Regions from separate parts of the Homo sapiens genome. Here all the other regions are linked to region 3. The links are contacts of gene promoters, found by promoter capture Hi-C in blood cells and fetal thymus (Javierre and others, 2016). All regions are on one chromosome and are shown on one strand. Each heading gives the region's core, a stretch centred on a gene start or on the middle of the fragment in contact. The rest is flanking DNA. Distances are from core to core; before and after follow the strand shown. Region 1 overlaps HNRNPC (heterogeneous nuclear ribonucleoprotein C). Region 2 has its middle 10 kb from the start of LINC00641. Region 3 holds the start of RAB2B (RAB2B, member RAS oncogene family).

Evidence for each region. Contacts are between HindIII fragments. The CHiCAGO score rates a contact against its expected background, and 5 or more counts as called.
Region 1: a fragment that was not itself captured here is called in contact with the fragment with the promoter of RAB2B in region 3 in 3 of 17 cell types (monocytes, naive B cells and naive CD4 T cells); the score reaches 5.5 in monocytes.
Region 2: a contact is called between a fragment that was not itself captured here and the fragment with the promoter of RAB2B in region 3, in 1 of 17 cell types (naive B cells). The highest score is 5.1, in naive B cells.

The regions. Positions count from the first base shown.
Region 1 is chr14:21,212,349-21,215,791 of GRCh38, reverse strand. It overlaps HNRNPC (heterogeneous nuclear ribonucleoprotein C), which reads left to right. Exons shown (of 9, transcript NM_004500.4): 6 at 2,675-2,832. Among named protein-coding and RNA genes, the nearest start is that of LINC00641, 7.2 kb to the right of the region's middle. The HindIII fragment of the contact is 591 bases long and covers 1,075-1,665 here.
Region 2 is chr14:21,194,863-21,198,169 of GRCh38, reverse strand. No RefSeq gene overlaps it. Among named protein-coding and RNA genes, the nearest start is that of LINC00641, 10 kb to the left of the region's middle. The HindIII fragment of the contact is 3,037 bases long and covers 1-2,925 here.
Region 3 is chr14:21,475,386-21,478,633 of GRCh38, reverse strand. It overlaps RAB2B (RAB2B, member RAS oncogene family), which reads left to right and starts at 1,675. Exons shown (of 8, transcript NM_032846.4): 1 at 1,675-1,807; 2 at 2,035-2,106. The coding sequence starts at 1,762. It overlaps TOX4 (TOX high mobility group box family member 4), which reads right to left and starts at 1,439. Exons shown (of 9, transcript NM_014828.4): 1 at 1,350-1,439; 2 at 1,070-1,138. The coding sequence starts at 1,355. RefSeq lists enhancers at 1,489-1,558, 2,139-2,258. The HindIII fragment of the contact is 9,465 bases long and covers 1-3,248 here.

The sequences.
Region 1 (3,443 bases), core at 121-2,620, 260 kb after region 3:
TGAGTAGCTGGAATTACAGGCGTGTGCCACCATGCCCGGCTAATTTTTGTATTTTTAGTATACACGGGGTTTCCCCATGTTGGTCAGGCTGGTCTCAACTCGTAACCTCATGATCCACCTGCCTCCGCCTCCCAAAATGTTGGGATTACAGGCATGAGCCTCCACACCTGGCTGGTGTATTTTGTCTTAATCTGTTCAGGTGATTAATGTCTCTAGAGTGTTTTAATTTCTTAATCTGACTAGATTTTATACCAACACCATCAAGTTTGATTATGGGTGCAGTTACAATTCTCCTAGGGTTTAGTCCTTGTTCCCCTGGTAAAAGATTTTAAACAGCCTAGCCTTAATCAGTAAGTAATCAGCTATTGTTGCCTCATCTATTGTATAGCTTTCTCATAGTGAGAATTTCCGCTTAATTTTTAGCTGGTGCTTGAAGTAGTCATACTGAGCTTCTTAATATATATCCCTTTTAACTTAAAGGTTGTCACACTATGTATGTTTTTTTTCTATTTTCACACTTACCGTCCTCAACATTTTTCGAGGCAAGGACTACTTCCTCAGATGTGAATGAGAGTCCATTTCTGCCTGAGCAGCATTCTGTGTAACTAAAAGCCTTAACTGGCTGAAATATTTTGAAATATTTTTCTTCAGAAAAGTAGAGAATTTGACTCCTAATTGTGTTCATGAGACTGTTACATAGATTCAAAACAAAACTGTATTACTTGCTTTATTTTGGCTGTGGTCAGACGAAATAGTAGGTTTTAAAAAGAAATTCCAGTGATAGTACAGAACTAGCTAGCTAGCTCATTGGTTTAGATACGGGTGCCGGTGAAGGTTTGTGGCTTAGGAGGTAGATTAGATATTTATTTCCATTGGACTGAGGCTTAAGCTCAGTTTAATGCTCATGGATATGGATAACTTATTTTGATTCACCTCCAGAAATTGTCGTTAAGCAATTTGTGTTTGTGCAAGTGTTACCATCTCTCACAAAGGATATGAGTTTCTGAACACTGATATTTTATAGTTTCTGTATCATTATACTTTGCAAGATTTTGGTCAAAAAGACCAAAAGCTTTATGTCAAAATGGGAAAGTAGTGATAATAAAAAGTTACTCAGTATCTTTTTCTTTGCATTAATTCCCATGAATGGATTAAACTAAGAGATTAACCATACTTAGGGGAAATGCAAACTTTTTTCTGTTTTCTTTTTTTTTGAGACAGTGTTGCTCTGTTCCGCATGAGTGCAGTGGTGCAGTCATGGTTCTCTCACCTCCTGGGCTCAACCTGTCTTTCCATCTCAGCTTTCCTTGCTCTTTTAATTTAGGAAAATGTTCCTGTCCATAGCCACTCCTGGGACAAGATTAAACATTGCTTTGTTGAAATAGTGTGGAAACACTTTTAAGTTAACAGAGGAGAGAATTAGCAATGAGATCTTGTAAATGTTTTCACTACAGGAAGATTGGAGATATTACAACTCAGAATAACTTGCCACTATTGTATATATATAAGAGGGAGAATCATGACAAAGGTGATTAATAATATTTTTAAAGTTCTTGACTATCACATTTGTTTTTTAAGAAATATTTGGAGTTAGAACAGTTGGTAGGTGTATTTTTATAGAGTACCTGGGCCTTTGCATTAAGTTAGTTGCATTTTTAAAAAGCTTGCAGAATTGAAGACCTTTTCATACGTTGCCATAGGTTCTTATATGGAAATGACAATGTGGAATGTAGAAAGTTTAGAACTGATGTCCATGTAAGAAGTATTTTGTTCTGTTTTGAATTTTCTCTTTACAAATGTAAGTGTACCAAGCCACTGCTTTGGTGTATCTTTATCAATCACTGGGATACTAAGTTTAAGACATTTGAAATTAAGATTTCTAATAGAAACAGCAATTAGTTGAGCAACCAGTGTTTATTGAGTGCTAAGTGTGTACTGGCCAGTGAATTTAGACATAGGTGAGTAGTGAACAAGATAGACAGTGGTCTCTGCCCTGTTGGAATTAAGCGTAAATTTAGTTAGAAATGATACTACCTGTTTTTATATGAGGTATTTTTTATCAGTAGTATTTATACCCAGCCAACACATTTTGCTATGATTCCCTCAGTTACATGAAATTGCCCTGATTTTATAGATCTGAAATTTTATATGGTTCAACCTTATATCACTAGTTGTAATAATTCGTGTGCTTCTGTGGGTGAAAAGAATCAGAGATTTCGCTAATGCCATATACCACTGTTTATATACCCTTTTAATTGGAACATTTTAAAGAGTATTTGACCGTATGTGAATTGTTTATTGTAATGTATATTTGAAAATAATAAGATCCAAAGGCTATTCATTATAATAAATGCCCTGTTAATACTGACACTAGTACAGAGGAATCATTTATATCCAGTGCCAAAGGCCAGCCAACCATATAATTTGATATATGTTTTATTTTCCTGAGGAAAAGTTGCTACAGTATTACAACTATTTTATGTGCCTAGGTAAAGAAATAATGGGATAAGATTTCTAAACCCCACTGTGGAGGTTTTTGCTGGCCTTCTTAATGAAATTTAATAAAAGGAAACGACTAGAGACAATATTCACTTACTATTTATCATAAGGTCTGTTGAATTGTGCTGAGTTAATGTTAGGTTTGAATGAATTCCATTTTCCTCTTATCCAATAGGATGTACAGTTACCCAGCACGTGTACCTCCTCCTCCTCCTATTGCTCGGGCTGTAGTGCCCTCGAAACGTCAGCGTGTATCAGGAAACACTTCACGAAGGGGCAAAAGTGGCTTCAATTCTAAGAGTGGACAGCGGGGATCTTCCAAGTCTGGAAAGTGTATGTATTATTTCATTTTGTGATTTTGGTATCTCTTGTGTTTTGAGATAGGGAAGCTAATGCAGTTACAATATTTTTGTGCCACATGACTTTGTGTATTCAAAATAATGGAAGAGGCTGGGTGTGTGGTGGCTCATGCCTGTAATCCCAGCACTTTGGGAGGCCCAGCGGGTGGATCAGCTGAGGTCAGGAGTTCAAGACCAGCCTGTCCAACATGGAGGAACCCCATCTCTACCGAAAATACAAAAAATTTGCCGGGGATGGTGGTGCGTGCATGTAATCCCAGCTAATTGGGAGGCTGAGGCAGGAGAATCGCTTTTACCCAGGAGGCGGAGGTTGCAGTGAGCCGAGATCATGCCATTGCACTCCAGCCTGGGTGACGAGCAAAACTCCATCTCAAGAAAAAAAAAAAAATCCAAAATAACAGAGGAGACAAGATTGTGATTGAGTGGCCAATTCTAGACTGCAACAGCTAGGTAATTTAAAAAATGTCATTTGACTTTATGTAGTTGAGGTGTGCGTTAAGTTCCTGAGATTTTTTTGTGTTATTTAAAAACTAAAATTCAGACAGTGTTCAGTATGTTGATTTTTTTTAACTTTTCTATATTGAA
Region 2 (3,307 bases), core at 158-2,657, 280 kb after region 3:
ATTCACACTGGAGTTTTATTACTCATCAGTCTCCCTGAGAATTTGGGGATTGAAGTTTTTAAGGATAATTTGGTGGGTAGGGAGAAAGTGAGTCTGAGTTCAGACAGGGAGTTCTGATTGGCCAGAGATGAAATAATAGGGAGTCAAAGCTATCCATCCTCTTGTGCTGAGTCAGTTCCTGGGTAGGGGCCACAAAACCAAATGAGCCAGTTTATTGATCTGGGTGGTATCAGTTGATTCACTGAGTACAGGATTTGCAAAATATTTCAAGTACTTATCTTAGGTTTTATAATAGTGTTGTTATCCACTGGATCAACTTGGGAAGGGTCAGAATCTTGTAGCCTCTAGCTGCGTGAATCCTAAACCATAATTTCTGATCTTTTGGCTAATTTGTTGGTCCTACAAAGGCAGTCTAGTCCTCAGGCAAGAAGGGGGTTTGTTTTGGGAAAGGGCTGTTATTATGTTTGTTTCAAACTATAGACTGTACATTAAGTTCCTCCCAAACTTAGTTTGGCCTACTGTCAGGAATGAACAAGAGCAGCTTAGAGGTTAGAAGCAAGATGGAGGTTAGGTCAGATCTCTTTCACTGTCTTAGTTATAATTTCGCAATGATGGTTTCATTATAATAGGAAATATGTTAGATCTGTATATTAATTTGGGAGAATTGAACATGTTTGCCATGCTTAGTCCTCCAATCCATGAACATGGTATGTCCTTCCATTTATTTTGATCTTTGATTTATTTTATCATTGGTTTGTAGTTTTGAGCATACAGATCCTGTACAGGTTTTGTGAGATTTACACCTAAGTATTTAAGTATTTTTTTAATGATTGCAAATGATATTGTGTTTTAATTTCATCTTCTCCATGTTTATTACTGGTCTATAGAAATATAATTCATTGAGACCAGCCTGAGCAACATTGTGAAACTCCGTCTCTACAAAGAATACAAAAATTAGCCAGATGTGGTGGCACATGCCTGCAGTTCCATCTACTTGGGAGGCTGAGGTGAAAGTCTCCTTTGAGTTTGGGTTGCAGAAGTTGTAGTGAGCTGAGATCATACAACTGCACTTCAGCCTGAGCAACAAAGCAAGAACCTGTCTCAAAAAAAAAAAGAAAAGAAATATAATTCATTTTTATATGTTGATCTTGTATCCCGCAACCTTACTGAACCCTTTTACTGGTTTTACTGTTTCTTCTACCACTCTTTTTACTGGAGTACAGTGGCATGATCTCGGCTCACTGCAATCTTCGATTCCTGGGCTCAAGCGATTCACCTGCCTCAGCCTCCCAAGTAGCTGGGATTACAGGCACCCGCCACCATGCCCAGCAAATTTTTGTATTTTTAGTAGAGATGGGGTTTCACCATGTTGGCCAGGCTGGTCTCGAACTCCTGACCTCAGGTGATCCACCCACCTCAGCCTCCCAAAGTGCTGGGATTACAGGCATGAGCCACCGTGCCCAGCCTTTTTTTTTTTTTTTTTTCTTTTCTCTTTCTTTTTAAGAGATGGGGTCTCCCTACATTGCCCAGGTTGGTCTTGAACTCCTGACCTCAGGTCATCTGCCCACCTCGGCCTCCCAAAGTGCTAGGATTAGAGGCGTGAGCCACCATGTCCGGCACTGTTTGTTTTATAATAGCATCCTAATGAGTGTGAAGTGGTATCTCAATGTGGCTTTGATTTGCATTTACCTAATTATTAATGATGTTGAGCATCTTTTCATGTGCTTATTGACCATTTGTATATCTTCTTTGGTGCAATGTTTGTTAATTCAAGTTCTTTGCCCATTTCAAAATCAGGTTGTTTGTTTTAATGTTGTTGAATTGTAGCAGTTATTTATATAGTCTGGATAGCAATTTTTTATGAGATATATGACTTGCAAATATTTTTTCCCATTTTGTGGATTGCATTTTCACTCTGTGGGTAGTATTTTACAGTGTTTTTGAGGGTATCTCTTTTTATAGTTGTTTTGAGTGGTTGCTCTAGGTGTTGCCTTATACATACAAAATGGATTACAGTATACTACTATTGTTTTACCATGTCAAGTGAAATGTAGAAAATTTACCTTATTTATATACCTTACCCTCCCCATTCATAATACAATTGTATTAAATATTTCCTCTACCTATTAGAGAACCTCATTAAATAATTTTATGATTTTTGCTTCTACTGTTAGCAGTGGCAGAGATCTGAGTTACCCCAAGGTACCAGCAGCCTATCTGTATGGGTCCATGGCAAGTTCCAGAGCAGGAATGGAAGTTTATTTAAAAAGGCCTTAGAATAGGAAAGAAAGGAAGGTGCGCTTGGAATAAAAAAAAAAAGCAGGCACATGAAGTTTAATAGAGAAGGTCAAATGCCGTTTAACCATGATCCTAGGACTTTCGTAAGTTTGCCTCTTTCCCAGGATTCTTCCCATAGGGTGGGCTTTCCGCATGCCCAGTGCTTTCCTTACCCTTTGGAACCGAGCCTGTTCAGTGTGTTTAGGGAGTTATATGCATGCCCAATCTGAGGCTTTCTTCCTTTTTCTGGTGGTGCGTCCCCAGAAAATCATACTTCACCATTTTTGTCTCTTAACATCCATGACCAGGAAGTTGCTTCTCCCTGGAACCTGCATTCAATTAACAGGTGTGGACCATCAGGAAATGGCCTCTCCCTGGCCCTGCCACATTATCATTTTTAGAGAGGCAATGTGGTAACTGCCGAACCATCACCAGACATTTCTAATGGGTGCAGGGAGAGTCAGTCCTCTCCTGTGCCACTCATGCCTGACTACCTGTAATACTGCCGTCAAATGTAATCTTTTTAAAAACCAAGAAGATAATTTTTTTGTTGTTGTTAACCATGTTTTTACCCTTTCCATTGTTCTTTTCTCATTACTGCTATTTAAAGATTCCTTCTTTTATCATTTTCCATCTGTTTCGAAAGCTTCCTTCGGCCATTTTAAAGGATAGATTGGCTGGCAAAAGTTCTTAATTTTCCTTTATTTGAAAATGTCTTGGCCAGATGCAGTGGCTCACACTTGTAATCCCAGCACTTAGAGAAGCCGAGGTGAGCAGATCGCTTGAGCCCAGGAGTTCAAGACCAGCCTGGGCAACATGGTGAGACCCTGTACAAAATTAGCTGGATATGATGGCACATGCCTGTAGTACCAGGTACTCATGAGGCTGAAGTGGGAGGATCAATTAAGCCTGGGAGGACAAAGCTGCAGTGAGCTCTGATTGCACCACTTCACTCCAGCCTGGACAACAGATTGAGACCCTGCAAAAAAAAAAAAAAAAAAGAAAAGAACATGAAAGAGAAAGAAAGAAG
Region 3 (3,248 bases), core at 426-2,925:
ATGGTTCAAGACTTCAGTTTCTCAAAGACAGAAATTTTTGTCTGTTCCACCATTCTCTTTTGCCTCTCCCAAACAAGTGATACATATCTATATTATGACAATATTTCAACCAAACTTTTTTAACGAACACTTCAGGGTTTCATCATAACCTTTACTTCTACTTTAAAACAGCATAAGAAACTATAATTACAGCTGTTTGACAGCTGGGGAAACTGTGACATACAAAGATGAAGTAATGTGCCCAACGTCTGAGTCACTGGCAAATTGAAACACATGTCCTACTCAACTCTTTTATATTCTCTAGCAGCTATTTCCTTTCCTCCTGACATTAGCAAAACAAGCTGACACCATGTAGGTAAAGGTAACCACAAATTTTTTATCAAAGTAGGAAATTTAGGCCGGGCGCAATGGCTCAGGCCTGTAATCCCAGCACTCCGGGAGGCCGAGGTGGGTGGATCACCTGAGGTCAGGAGTTCGAAACCAGCCTGGCCAATATGGTGAAACTGCCATCTCTACTAAATATACAAAAATTAGCCGAGCGTGGTGGCGCACGCCTGTAATCCCAGCTACTCGGGAGGCTGAGGCAGGAGAATCGCTTGAACCCAGGAGACAGAGGTTGCAGTGAGCCGAGATCGCACCACTGCACTTCAACCTGGGCGATAAAGCGAGACTCTGTCTCAAAACAAAAGAAAACCAATAAGCTCCTCCCCTCAACCCCAATTTCTTCAGCTGCTGAAACATTTTCTTTCCACTGCGATCCCCTAAGATTACTGTAGCTATTTCTCCCCAGAGAAAGGAGACAATTCCACTCTGTCTTCTAATCCAGAATCCCTTTTCTCTTTAAACAGGTTATCTCTTTCCAATACCTTGCTTTCTGATGACAGCAACTTCCCAAGACTTCCCCAGATAGTCCCCACAGGCTCTAGAAGCAACCGCCACTTTTCTCTAAACACCAATTGCGGCCCTTGGTTCCCAGCCCCCGTCCCCGGAGTCCGTGCTCTCCTCCCCACTACCCTACCCCACCGCTGCCTCAGGCCCTACCCCCGCGGCGTCGGCAGCTCTGGCTCACCTCGGCCCCTGACAGGAAGGGGTGCGAAGGCCCTGTGATCGTCAGGTAATTGTCATTTCCTCCGGGAAACTGGAAACCAAAAGAAAGTCGCGGGGATAAGTTAGGGGGAGCAGGGAGTCAGCTTGGAGCGATGGCTTTTGACCCTGACATTCTGACAACACTCCCCAAACCCCGCTCTCTCTCCTCTCCCGTCAGTCGCCTCTCCGCCCGGCTTCCCGTCCCTGCTTCAACCCGGTCGGCCGCGTTCTCTCGCCAGCCTTCTTAGCTATCAGGTTCCTACCTCCATCTTCACACAACCGCTCCCACCGTCTCAGACCCTCATCGCTCCCACCGCCCCCACTGGACTCGGAACTGCCGTCACTTCCGCAAGGACGTGTGTTCTCTCTGCTGATTGGAAGGAGCGCCGTGGGGCTGCAGAGAGTCAGGCGCTGGGCTATCGCCCCCTGGAGTTTGGAGGGATAAGGGCATGTAGAAGTGCTAGAAGCGTCCCTGGAGGTGGCGTAGGGTACTCCCGACCTAAGGATGATTCCGGGGAGTGCAATAGAGACGTGATCTGGGCTAGAGGAGCCGGAGGGGCGGGGGAGCGGGGGGAAGGGGGAGAAGAAGAAGATCGGTAGATTGAGTGGCTAGAGAGGTCGGAGGTAAGTGGCTATAGAAGTCGGGCGGACCCGGAACCCAGAGGACGCGACACCATGACTTATGCTTATCTCTTCAAGTATATCATCATCGGAGACACAGGTAACCCTCAGGTGGTTCGCCTTCAAGGCTCGGGCGGGCATTCGAAGCTCCCAAATTGGGTGGCGGGGGCGGGGCTCACTTTGTGGGCTGGGCGATTCGAGACGGGCGGGGCGGTTCGGGGCGGCCGGGGGCGGGGCTCGGGAGCCCCCCTTCTCTGGTCCGGGAAGTCCATACTCTGGAAGGTGTTCCAGGGCTGCGTGATTCCGGGAGTGTGCTTTCTCTTTCAGGTGTGGGGAAGTCATGTCTCCTCCTGCAGTTTACAGATAAGCGGTTCCAGCCTGTCCACGACCTCACAATAGGTAAGTGCATCTACTTGTTCCAGAACAGATGATAAAACCTGACTAGCTAAATTGCTAAAGTGGAAAGTTAGCAGCCTTCAGTGTTCGAAGTAAAAAGTTACCCCTCACTACTTTAAACTAGTCCAAACTTATGTTAATGAAGTGACCAATGAAACGTTGATATGTGGGGAGTAGTGTAAGGGAGAGTATATAATTGAAAGGTAACTTTTTAGAGTGTGAGGTATAGACTCGTCATATAATTTTTTTTCAAATACAATTTGTATGTTTATGGAAAATCCCACGAAAGCATAACTGCTTATTTATGAACTCATCTGTGCTTTGAGGTAAATTAATACCAGCCTTACTTTTAAAAAGTAAACACCAATACATGGACATTTTTTATATTGGTGAAGAAGCAAATTGAGGAGTCATCCCTGCCTTAGAATTAATAGGCAAATAAAACTAAAAACTTTCCTTTTAAATGAAAGAGTGTGTTAACAGTTCCTCAAACGCACTGGCGATCCTGGAAAATATTAACCTTTCCCACACGTTTGTGATAAGGCATGGCCTGAAGAGGCTTTTAACTACCCCCTCTTCGTTATCTCCGTAACCCCAGTCCAAATAAACAACATATATGAAACTAGCTTTCTTGCCATGCAAATGCAGTTTCTAAATAAACCCCTACATCCCCATTCTTACCATATTGCTACTTCCAAGTCCCACCTGTATGGAAACCTGAAGCTACCACTGTTCCTAACGGATTTATTTAGAGTCAAATAATTGATGGGGTTAGAAAAGGATTTGGCAGTATCAACTAAAAGGTATTTTAAAGGGAATATTGAGCGAATTCTCACTTTGCGATAGGGGCTAATGATACAATGCTTAACAAGGCAACAATGCTTAATTGTGCCTCTGGCAATTATTGGAAATGTAAAATGTATTGTTAAAAAAATTAGGTGGGCGTTGTGGCGTGTGCCTGTAAGGTACTTACTTGGGAGGCTGAGGCAGGAGAATCACTTGAACTCAGGAGGTGGAGGCTGCAGTGAGCTGAGATCGCACCACTGCACTCCAGCCTGGGTGACGGAGCGAGACTCCATCTCAAAAAAAAAAAAAAAAAAGTATTGTTTCTGAGAACCTATTTCTTAGGCTCTTTTCTTAAAGAA